3 separate regions of the Homo sapiens genome follow, and regions 1 and 2 are each linked to region 3. Evidence: promoter capture Hi-C in 16 types of primary human blood cells and fetal thymus (Javierre and others, 2016). All regions are on one chromosome and are shown on one strand. The core of a region is centred on a gene start or on the middle of the fragment in contact, and the rest is flanking DNA. Distances in the headings are between cores, read along the strand shown. Region 1 has its middle 30 kb from the start of OCM. Region 2 overlaps CYTH3 (cytohesin 3). Region 3 holds the start of ANKRD61 (ankyrin repeat domain 61).

Evidence for each region. The method cuts DNA at HindIII sites, captures the fragments that hold promoters and counts their contacts. A CHiCAGO score of 5 or more calls a contact.
Region 1: a fragment that was not itself captured here is called in contact with the fragment with the promoter of ANKRD61 in region 3 in 1 of 17 cell types (endothelial precursors); the score reaches 5.5 in endothelial precursors.
Region 2: a contact is called between a fragment that was not itself captured here and the fragment with the promoter of ANKRD61 in region 3, in 2 of 17 cell types (megakaryocytes and erythroblasts). The highest score is 5.2, in megakaryocytes.

What each region holds. Positions count from the first base shown.
Region 1 is chr7:5,849,154-5,853,074 of GRCh38, forward strand. It overlaps the pseudogene ZNF815P. Among named protein-coding and RNA genes, the nearest start is that of OCM, 30 kb to the right of the region's middle. The HindIII fragment of the contact is 1,294 bases long and covers 874-2,167 here.
Region 2 is chr7:6,265,267-6,269,241 of GRCh38, forward strand. The region is part of intron 1 of CYTH3 (cytohesin 3); the gene reads right to left. Among named protein-coding and RNA genes, the nearest start is that of CYTH3, 5.4 kb to the right of the region's middle. The HindIII fragment of the contact is 4,625 bases long and covers 60-3,975 here.
Region 3 is chr7:6,029,676-6,033,207 of GRCh38, forward strand. It overlaps ANKRD61 (ankyrin repeat domain 61), which reads left to right and starts at 1,701. Exons shown (of 3, transcript NM_001271700.2): 1 at 1,701-1,916; 2 at 3,164-3,261. The coding sequence starts at 1,701. All of the region lies in intron 11 of EIF2AK1 (eukaryotic translation initiation factor 2 alpha kinase 1), which reads right to left. The HindIII fragment of the contact is 4,913 bases long and covers 1-2,909 here.

The sequences.
Region 1 (3,921 bases), core at 271-2,770, 180 kb before region 3:
AACACGGTGAAACCCCGTCACTGAAAAATATAAAAATTAGCTGAGCATGCTGGTGATTTTCTGTAATCCCAGTAATCCCAGCTACTTGGGAGGCTCAGGCACGAGAATTGCTTGAGCCCAGCAGGCAGAGGTTGCAGTGAGCTGAGATTGTGCCACTTCATTCCAGCCTGGGCGACAGAGCAAGACTCTGTCTCAAAACAAGTTATATTTCTATATTAGGACTCCATTTTCTGGCAATACGGTGGACCGTCTAAAGTGAAAATCACCGGGGCAGTGGCTCGTGCCTGTGATCTCAGCACTTGGGAAAGTCAAGGTGGACAGGTCACTTGACCCCAGGAGTTCAAGACCAGCCTGGGCAACACGGTGAGACCCTGTCTGTACCAAATACATATATATATTAGCTGGGCGTGGTGGCACGTGCCTGTAGGACCAGGTACTTGGGAGGCTGAGGTGGGAGAATCCCTTGAGCCCAGGAGTTTGAGGCTACAGTGAGCCATGGTCGTGCCACTGCGCACCAGCCTGGGTGACAGTGAGACCCTCTCTCAATAGAAATGAAGTGAAAACCCACTGAAAACAACTGGACATGACGGACAACAACCGCTGACATCCTTTTAGATACATAATTCAGCTCTCAGGAAAATAAGTATCCAGGTGCCAGCTATGTAGAAGGTACTGAAAAACAAAGTCTGTGAGTTGATGCTGTAGCTGTTCTATGGGTTTTTGTTTACTTGGAACTTGAATGTTAAATGGTATAGAAGGGTAAGAAACAAGAACTTGGGGGCTACACAAGACAGAACTGGCCTTGAAATAACTCAGATGCGCAGAACTTTCCACAGGCTGTACATCAAGGGAGACGGCAGACTGGAGACAGAAAGCTTGCCTGTCTGTCCTTGGGCTCTGGGTAGGGCAAGATTTTACCTGGATGAGTCCATGTGCACTGGCCTGCATGTCATCTAAGTTAGAATTTGAACTTGCCCTACTCATGTTCCAATTGAGAAACTGAACAATCAGGCCGGGTGCAGTGGCTGTAATCCCAGCATTCTGGGAGGCTGAGGAGGGTGAATCACCCGAGGTCAAGAGTTTGAGACCAGCCTGCCCAACATGGTGAAACCCCATCTCTACTACAAATACAAAAAGCTGGGCGTGATGGCAGACGCCTGTAGTCCCAGCTACTCGGGAGGCTGAGGCAGGAGACTTCGCTCGAACCTGGGAGGCAGAGGTTGCAGTGAGCCGAGATCGCACCACTGCACTCCGGTTTGGGCAACAAGCAAAACTCTTGTTAAGAAAAAAAGGTAGACACAGCATGAGTCCACTTATATAAGGTACCTAGAATAGTCAAACTGATAAGAGACAGAAAAAAAGTAAAACGTTGGTTATCAGAGCTTGGGGGTAAGGGGGATGGAGAGTGAGGGTTAATGGGGACAGTTTCAGTTTGGGAAGATGGAAAAGTGCTGGAGATGGATGATGGTGATGGTTGTACAATATTTTGTTTTTCTCTTTTTTTTTTTTTTGAGATGGAGTCTCGCTCTGTCGCCCCAACTGGAGTGCAGTGGTGCAATCTCGGCTCACCGCAACCTCCACTTCCCGGGTTCAAGAAATTCTCCTGCCTCAGCCTCCTGAGTAGCTGGGATTATAGGTGCACACCACCATGTCCAGCTAATTTTTGTATTTTTAGTAGAGATGGGGTTTTGCCACGTTGGCCAGGCTGGTCTTGAACTCCTGACCTCCTGCCCGCCTTGGCCTCCCAAAGTGCTGGTGTTATAGGCGTGAGCCACCATGCCCAGCCTGGTTGCACAATATTTTTGATGTAATAAATGCCACTGAATTGTACCCTCAAAAATAGCGAAAATGGCAAATTTTATGTTACGCATATTTTACCACAATTAAAAAAAAAAAAGTGTAGGATCCACTCCCAGCTGGTGCTCTGGCCCTGCCCTGGCCCCACAGTGGAGGAAGGTGCTTCTCTCCCATTAACGTGGACACGCCTTGACCAGGACTTTGAGCGTGTGGTTTTTCCCTTCCCTAGCCCGGGCCTCGGACCTTCTATGACAATCCGCTTTCCTCTTATATGTGATTTTACTTTCCCAGACTGGAACATTTGCTTTCTGTTCACTTTACTGAACAACACTTAGACATCCAACCTCTCTCTGTCCTCTCTCTTCCCTGAAGCTTCCTTGGCACACAACACACCTAGGCAAGCCTGGGTGGGTACAGGAGTGGTTCACTGCATCCCTGGAACAGGCTCAGGGGTTTTCGGGCATAAAGGCCTCCTCCCTGGCTTGATGGTCAACCTGTGCCCAGTGTCACATCCATCAAATGACTTTGTATTTCACAGCTTCTCTTCCACCCCCACTCTCTTGGGAGAGGTCAGGCCCTTCCAGCCCAGAGTGGGGGTCAGTGTGGACCTGGGATTTGATGTATACTCTAAGCTTGGGGAAAAAAAATGGTTAAAAAGTCCCCCAAGGGCAGCAGGAAATCGGGCTCTGGTCCCAGATGCATTTGTGATGAAAGGGATTAGACTCTGCAGCTCCTGTTAAAATCAACCACCGCGTCCATGGGTTGATCCAAGAATTCTGTGCAAAGTCTGTAAAACTCCGTCCTTGGTCTTGCTTGCTTTAATGACAGTCTTTCACATTTTTGTCCTAACATGTTTCTTCTCAGCCTGATTTTTTTAACAAACTGGCAACTTTGAAATGTAAAACAGTGAAATCTAGAATTTTCTCCCAGAGAAAACTTTTCCAGAGAGAACACACACACACACACACGCCCATCAATTGAGAACCATATGCTAAGAGCAACTATGTTTACTTTACAAAAGAATAATGTCTTGGCTGGGCACGGTGGTTCACGCCTGTAATCCCAGCACTTTGGGAGGCCGAGACAGGCAGATCACTTGAGCTCAGGAGTTTGAGACCAGCCTGCGCAACATGGTGAAACCCTGTCTCTACAAAAAAAATTAGCCGGACGTGGTAGCATGTGCCTGCAGTCCCAGCTACTCAGGAGGCTGAGATGGGAGGATCGCTTGAGCCTGGGAAGTGGAGGTTGTGGTGAGCCAAGATTGCGCCACGGCACTCCAGCCTGGGAGACAGAGTGAGATGCTGCCTCAATAACAATAATCACAACATCTTGAAATAACCGTTTCTGTCTCTTTCTTGCCACTGGAGACAGAAGAGTTAGCCAGGTTGCAGTTTTTTTTCCCGTTCCTCACTCCTGGAGACACCCAGGCCACTGGGTTCTGAGCTCCTTGTCTCCAGGGAGTTAAGATGAACATGCTAGAGTCAGCTTGCTTCAAGTCTCAGCTCTACCATTTGCTAACTTTGGGTAAATCATTCAAGCCTCAGTTTCCTCATCTGTAAAACAAGATTATCAATGTAACTACATCCTACATGGAGTAGGCAGCAGACTACAAGGGTCTCTCGAGACCAGCAGAGGCAACATAGTCTTGCTCTGTCACCCAGGCTGGAGTGCAGTGGTGCGATTATAGCTCACTGCAGCCTTGAACTTCTGGGGCTCCAGCGATCCTCCTGCCTTATCCTCCCAAGTAGCTGGGACTACGGGCACATGCTATCACGCCTCACTAACTTTTTAACTTTTTCATAGAGATGGGGTCTCGCTCTGTTACCCAGGCTGGTCTCAAACTCCTTGCCTCAAGCATTCCTCTTGCCTCTACCTCCCCAAGCAGTGGGATTACAGGCGTGAGCCACTGCACCTGGCTAATTTTTAAATTTGTAGCAGAGATGGGTGTCGCACGATGTTGCCCAGGCTGAGTCTATATTTTCATACGGTCATTATTCCCCATGTTAAACTTAGAGGCAAAGTCTTATTATTATGGTTGTAGTTGAGAAAACCTGGGCTCAGCAATATAATAAGGTTCATCTGAGGTCAGCCAGTTTATAGCACACCTGAGTTGGGACTGGACCC
Region 2 (3,975 bases), core at 1,122-3,621, 240 kb after region 3:
GATCATATGTGGCCCACAAAGCCTATGAGGTTTACTATCCGGCCCTTTTATGAAAAAAAAGCTTGGCTGGGCGTGGTGGCTCATGCCTGTAATCCCAGCACTTTGGGAGGCCAAGGCAGGCAGATCACGAGGTCAGGAGTTCAAGACCAGCCTGGCCAATATGGTGAAACCCGTATCTATTAAAAAAAAAAAATTACAAAAAATTAGCCGGGCATGGTGGCACGCGCCTGTAGTCCCAGCTACTCAGGAGGCTGAGGCAGGAGAATCACTTGAGCCCAGGAAGCGGATGTTGCAGTGAGCCGAGATCGCTCCACTGCACTCCAGCCCAGGTGACAGAGCAAGACTCCATTTCAAAAAAAAAAAAAAAAAGAAGAAGAAGAACTTGCAGCCCCTAAACTACAGCGTGTGGGCCATGGCCATGGTAAGGTGGTCTGAGAATAGGATTCTCAATAAACCGAGGAAAGAGCAAACTTTCAGAGAGGAGTGACATGACCTGCGTGTCAAAGGGAATCGCCCTGGCTGCAGTGTGAACAAGGATGACAATGGGAGAACCATGAGAAGGCTTAAGGCAAAAGAAGTGAAAGATGGCACCAAAATTTTGGCCTGAGCAACTGGAAGAACACCACAATATACTGAGATGGAGAGACTTACCAGTAATGCTTTATTTTTTAAAAAACGGACCTAAAAAATGCAACAGAACATTGACAGCTATTATGTCAATTCTGAGTAGTGGGAACAAGAGTGCTGGTTTCATTATTCTTTGTACTTTTCTGTATGTTTTATACAGATGTGTTTTATATATATCCTTCCCTCCATATTTCCCACTACCACCCTAACCCACCAAGCCCCGTAACTCTCACCTGAACCACTGCAACACCTCCCTTCTCCCAAGTCCTCCCTTCTCCTCCAAACCACTCTCCACTCAGGAGTCAAGAATATGCTTCTTTAAAAAGCAGGGGGCAGTGGTTGAGAATACGGATTCTGAAATGGAAGGCTTGGGTTCCAATCACAGCTCCATCACCTGCTAGCTGTGAAATTTCAGACCAATTACTTAGCTTCCCTATGCCTCCATTTTCCAATCTGAAAATAGCAATATGATGAAGAGTCAATAAATTAAGACGCAGAAAGTACACAGGACATACAGCATCAAGTAAATATTAGCTAAAATTATTGAAATGTAAATCAAATGAGATTTCCCCGTTTAAAAATCTTTCAGCGGCTTCATGTACTTAGAATAAAATCTGCATTCCTTAGCTACTGAAAGCCTGACATGGCCCCAGTCTATCTCTCCCGCTTCACTGTCTGTTCAAGCCACACAAAGCTGCTTTTAATTCTCTAGAATACTCAGCTCTTGCCAGCTCCATGCCTTCCCTTCTGTCTGGTCCACTACCCCTATAGATTGCACCTCGAAGGGCATTTCCTCAGAGGCCTTCCCTGGCCACGGGCTTTCCCTACACCTCTCCCATCCCACACTTTCTCTTCCTCAACCTCTTGTTGATTTCCTTTAACACATCTAGCATAATACATGATTATTTTATATATAGCTGTTTACCTCTTTTGTCTGTCTCTCCATCTAAACATGAGCTCCATGAACGTGGGAAATTTATCTGCCGTATTCACCACTGTTAGGCACTGATACAGTTTGGATATATGCCCCGCCCAAATCTCATGTTGAACTGTAATCCCCAATGCTGGAGGCAGGACTTGGAGGGGAGGCGACAGGATCATGGAGGCAGATCCCTCATGGCTCAGTGCTGCCCTTGCAATAGTGAGTGAGGACTCCTGAGATCTGGTCGTTTAAGGGCGTGGCATCTCTTCCCTCTTGCTCCTGCTCTAGCCATGTGATGTGCCTGATCCTGCTTCACCTTCCATTATGAGTAAAAAGCTCCCTGAGGCCTCCCCAGGAGCCGAGCAGATGCTGGCACCATGCCTGTACAGCTACAGCCTGCACAACCATGAGTCCATGAAACCTCTTTCCTTTATATATAACCCAGGCTCAGGTACTTCTTTATAGCAATGCAAAAACGGCATGACACAGGCACTAATAGCTCTTGTGCCATGCATAGAACCTGGTATTTGGTAGAGACACCATCAACATTTGAGTAAATGACTACAAAAGAATATACTCTAAGCATAATCTAAAAGCATCCACTTTTTAAACTCTCAAAAATACAGTAGTTAACTTACTACAGAATGAAAAATAGGTAACATTTTATAACCTTACATTGCATATCACATTATCTTTTTGTTGCGGTCTTCCCAGAATATTTTGTTTGTTTGTTTTGAGACCGAGTCTCACTCTGTCGCCAGGCAGTGGCGCTATCTCGGCTCATTGCAACCTCTGCCTCCAGGGTTCAAGCAATTCTCCTGCCTCAGCCTCTCGAGCAGCTGGGACTACAGGTGCGCATCACTATGCCCGGCTAATTTTTGTATTTTTAGTAGAGACGGGGTTTCACCACATTGGCCAGACTGGTCTCGAACTCCTGACCTCATGATCTACCCGCCTTGGCCTCCCAAAGTGCTGGGATTACAGGCGTGAGCCATTGCGCCCAGCTGTATTTTTTAATCTATAAAAATTCCCTCAAAAAAGGTGTAAAATGGGTATTTTCTTACCATCATACTATTTTTCTATGAAACTGCTTTCCAATTTTAGAAAAAGTGAAGACAGATTATTCAAACTTTTTTGAATTTCAAAAAATAAAAAGGCGCATAGTGAAAAGTTTCCTTCCCACCTATATTCCCCATCCACTCAGTTCCCATCATCTTCCCCAATCAGGTAACCATTGTTATTGGTTCCTCCTTTCACCTTCCAGGGAATCTGCATGCATCAGCCATTACCTCCTCTTTCAAAACACAAGAATGGGAGCACGCAATGCACACTTTCCTACACTTTGCTCTTGTAATTTTGTTTTGTTTTTTTGAGACAGGGTCTCACTCTGTTGCCCAGACTGGAATGCAGTGGCGCAATCTCACTCACCGCAACCTGCACCTCCCAGGCTCAAGCGATTCTCCTGCCTCAGCCTCCCGCGTAGCTGAGATTACAGGCACGCACCACCACTCCCGGCTAATTTTTGTATTTTTTTAGTAGAAACGGAGTTTCACCATGCTGCCCAGGCTGGTCTTGAATTCCTGACCTCAAATGATCCACCCGCCTCGGCCTCCCAAAGTGCTAGGATTATAGGTGAGAGCCGCCGCGCCCGGCCTGCTCTTGTAACTTAAGATATTTTGGAGATCTCTCCATGTCAACTAAGAAAAGAGCTTCCTCGTTCCTTTCTACAACTTTACAACCTCATTAACCATCTGGGCATGGATTTATCTGATAAGTCTCTTGCTTGCTGATGGACACTCAAGGCAATAAATAATCTTGTACCTATGTTATCTCACACGTGTACAAATATATCTGCAGGTTAAATTCCTAGAACTGGATTGCTGGGTCAAAGGATTTACACGCCTGTAATTTTTAAAGCTACTGCCTAAAGCACCTGTATCTATCAGGGTCCACCCAGAGAAACAGAGACATCCAGAGAAACCATCCCTTTAAGAATCTGATATAGAGGGAATTTAATATAAGGAATTAGTGACAGGGGTGATGGAAAAACTGAAAAGCCAAACAGGAAATGATAATACAAAGATTATCAAGAGCAAGCTGCTGTTACCACTTCTCAAATAGAGGGTAAAAGGGAGGAGGTATTTCCAAGACTCAAAGGCTAGGACCAAGGGGCAGGAGCTGGAGCCAAAAGGAGACAAGGTACCTGCCAGAGACACTCCCTGAGGCAGGCCTAAGGGAAATAACCTGTTTTTGTCCTTCTTCCTGCCATTCCTCCTGCCAGTGGCTCCCAGTGGCCAATCCCAGCCGGAAGCCAGCTGACCAAGGGCCTGGGAAATGTTGCCTGCAGGGGTGAGTCCCTGCAGGGAAAGGGCAAGAAACGGATCTGAGCCAACAGGACATGGGCTGACCCTGCCTGTGGCTACTTT
Region 3 (3,532 bases), core at 451-2,950:
GAAGCTCTTAGAAATGACTGTCCTCGGCCGGGCACGGTGGCTCACACCTGTAATCTCAGCACTTTAGGAGGCTGAGGCGGGCAAATCGCCTGAGGTCAGGAGTTCAAGACCAGGCTGGCCAACATGGTGAAACCCCATCTCTACTAAAAATACAAAAATTAGCCAGGTGTGGTGGTGCATGCCTGTAATCCCAGCTACTCGGGAGGCTGAGGCAGAATTGCTTGAACCTGGGAGGCAGAGGTTGCAGTGAGACGAGATCGCATCACTGCACTCCAGCCTGGGAAACAGAGTGAGACTCTGTCTCAAAAAAAAGAAAAGAAAAGAAACGACTGTCCTGTCGAGTCCAGAGACGTGATTTTCTATGTGTGAGAAAACATTTTAAATGGCTTTTTCAAGGCATGATAAATCTAAGCACCGGCAGCCAGCCTGCAAATGTAACAAACCACATGGCTCATCCACCTGGAAGATCACAATAAGTGAACAGGATGTAGAGGAGTCAGCCCATAAAAGGGAAGAAAGTTTCATTACTGGGAAATCCAAACTTAAGCGGGAAAGGGACCAGGGTATAACCTTCTAAGGGGATAATGCAACTTAGGCGACGTCCGGGAAGATCGTAACCCTGTAGTCCTTGACCAGTGAGGAACTGAGGTAGGGTCTTGCATGCTAGGAGATAAATCACCTGTTGTAACTGCCCTGGGTGTACCTGCCTACCAGACACGTGACCTTGCAAGAGGGCTATTAAAAGTCTCACTTTCACTGTTCTTTGTGCCTCTAAGTTCACTCTTTGGGTTTGGACGGGTGAGCATGTTTCTCGCACTACGAAAAAACTGATTTTTTTCTTTAAGACAGAGTCTTGCTGTGTCGCCAGGCTGGAGTGCAGTGGTGCCATCTCGGCTCACTGTAACCTCCACCTCTCAGGTTCAAACAATTCTCCTGCCTCAACCTCCTGAGTAGCTGGGACTACAGGCGCACGCCACCACAGCCAGCTACTTTTTGTATTTTTAGTAGCGACAGGGTTTCACCATGTTGGCCAGTATGGTCTTGATCTCTTGACCTCATGTTCTGCCCGCCCTGGCCTCTCAAAGTGCTGGGATTACAGGCATGAGCGACCGCACCCAGCCAACTTTGATATTTTTTAAAAGCTCCCAGATAACTCATATGTATTAGCCAGGGTTGGGAACTAATAGATCACACTAAATGGCTTTATTTAAGCAAAGAGTACAGACCCAAAACATCTCCCAAACTATTCCTATGCCGGAGAAAAACTGAACCCATAATGGGGAGAGGGAAGATTCTATTATAATAAAAACTAAAAAATAACTTAAGGTTAAAAGTTTTCTTACTTTAAAAGTAATAATTTTAACTTTGTATTTTAATGTATAAATTCCTCTGTTTTAGCTTTGATCATTGTTTCAGCTACACTTGAACTGGAGAGAAATCAGAAATAAAGGTGTAAGATGATAGCTTGAATATGTTTTTATGATAGAGTAGAAAACCCTAAAAACTGCTGACATTTGACATTCTATGATCAAGGAACAAAGTCTGGACGCTTGGTTCCAAACTGATGGATTGCCTTCACAGATCCAATTCTCGACAAATTCTAGAACAGTTCTAGAACTGAACTGAAAGAATCATCACAAAGAGACTGAAACTGACCAATTCCATAACAACATTTTCCCCTGAAGTCTTAAGTTTTTCTCATGGGGAATATAACCAGGAAAGGAAGCAGAGACCTGGTGGTTGACAGTGCCAAGTCCCTGGAAGATGGCCCATCTGCAGCACTTCACTCGAAACTCTATGAAGCCATCATGAGAGAAGACTGCACTACGATCGAGGTACTCCTGAGAAATCACCCTGTCAACCAGCCCATCACCATTCTGCCCAACTCCGCCAGCAACAGATTACTTCTGACCCAGGTACCCTCTTTTCTGCTCAGTCACTTCTGGAAAAAAGTCAGGCTGCTTAGAAAGAAGCATGATCTAAAGCTGGTGAACCCACTAAGCTCACGGCCCTTATGAGAATGAGACACGACTCCAGCTCACTCCACACACACTGCAGTGCTCCCCAAAGCCTGCAAAGCCTCCCCTACACATGTCACACACAAACCAACATGAGAAAACACCAGACCCTGTGTGACTGGAAGACCATTCATGTCATCTCTCAAACATACCCACAGTGATGATCTCCATGTGGTCAAATTAGTTTTTCCCTTTTTTGGCCAGACGCAGTAGCTCATGCCTGTAATCCCAGCACTTTGGAAGGCTGAGGTGGGTGGATCACCTGAGGTCAGGAGTTCGAGACCAGCCTGGCCAGCAGGGCAAAACCCCGTCTCTACTAAAAATACAAAAATTAGCCGGGCTTGGTGGCAGGAGCCTGTAATCTCAGCTACTCGGACGGCTGAGGCAGGAGAATTGCTTGAACCCAGGAGGCAGAGGTTGCAGTGAGCCAAGATCGTACCACTGCACTCTCTAGCCTGGATGACAGAGCAAGACTCCATCTCAAACAAACAAACAAAAAATAGTTTTTCCCTTTTTAATATATACATTTTCATTTTCTAAATTTTTATACAATGATTATTACTTTTACAATTAAATTCAAAAAGGAAGTCACCCTCCCTTGTACCCTACTGTCTTATCTTGCAGCCACGGTGTGAAACCACTACTTACACGTGTGTATTTTAAGAGCTGGCACAAACAGCTCTGCTAATCATAGACAGAACATATGCTGCGTTATATTTGAAAACCCTGAAGATTCAGGTTTTACTGCTGATAATACGACTTTGGCAACGACACAGCACCTACTTGTCCATCACCCTGTGGGTTAATTTAAGGAATAAGTGACTTCATAGCAAGTACCCTTAATATCACACCACAGGCTCTTCTGAAGAATCAACTTTCAAAAATTTCCAAAGCTTTTGAGTGTTATTTCTGTTGCCTCAGTAAATGTGCATTTCTGTGAAACACAGATTTTATAGGATGGAATTCACTGAATTTTGATCATTTAAAACAGGTAGTAGAAAGGAAACTTTCAATGCACATACCAGAAAAAGAGTGAGCCAATGAGACACTAAATAAATGTATTGCCTTTGAAACGGCAAGCTAACACAAACAGTATTTTTAACTACACAGGGCCACTTGTAATGTGTTTTGTTTTCCCTCCAAAGCCGACAGAGTCTATCATCCCCATCCATCTGGCTGCCAAGTACCACAAGGCCCAGAGTCTGCTCTGCCTGTTACGGCACGGTGCTGACCCAGAAGTCAGGTAAGTTAACTCCACCGAAAATCATTTCTTTTTTTTTCTTTTTTGTTTTGAGGCAGGGGTCTCGCTCTGTTGCCCAGGCTGGAGTGCAATGGCACAATCTCGCCTCACTGCAACCTCTACTTCCTGGGTTCAAGAGCTTCTCCCACCTCAGCCTCCCGAGTAGCTGGGATTACAGGTGTGCGTCACCATGCCCAGCTAACATTTGTATTTTTAGTAGAGACAGGGTTTCACCATGTTGGCCAGGCTGGTCTTGAACTCCTGGCCTCAAGTG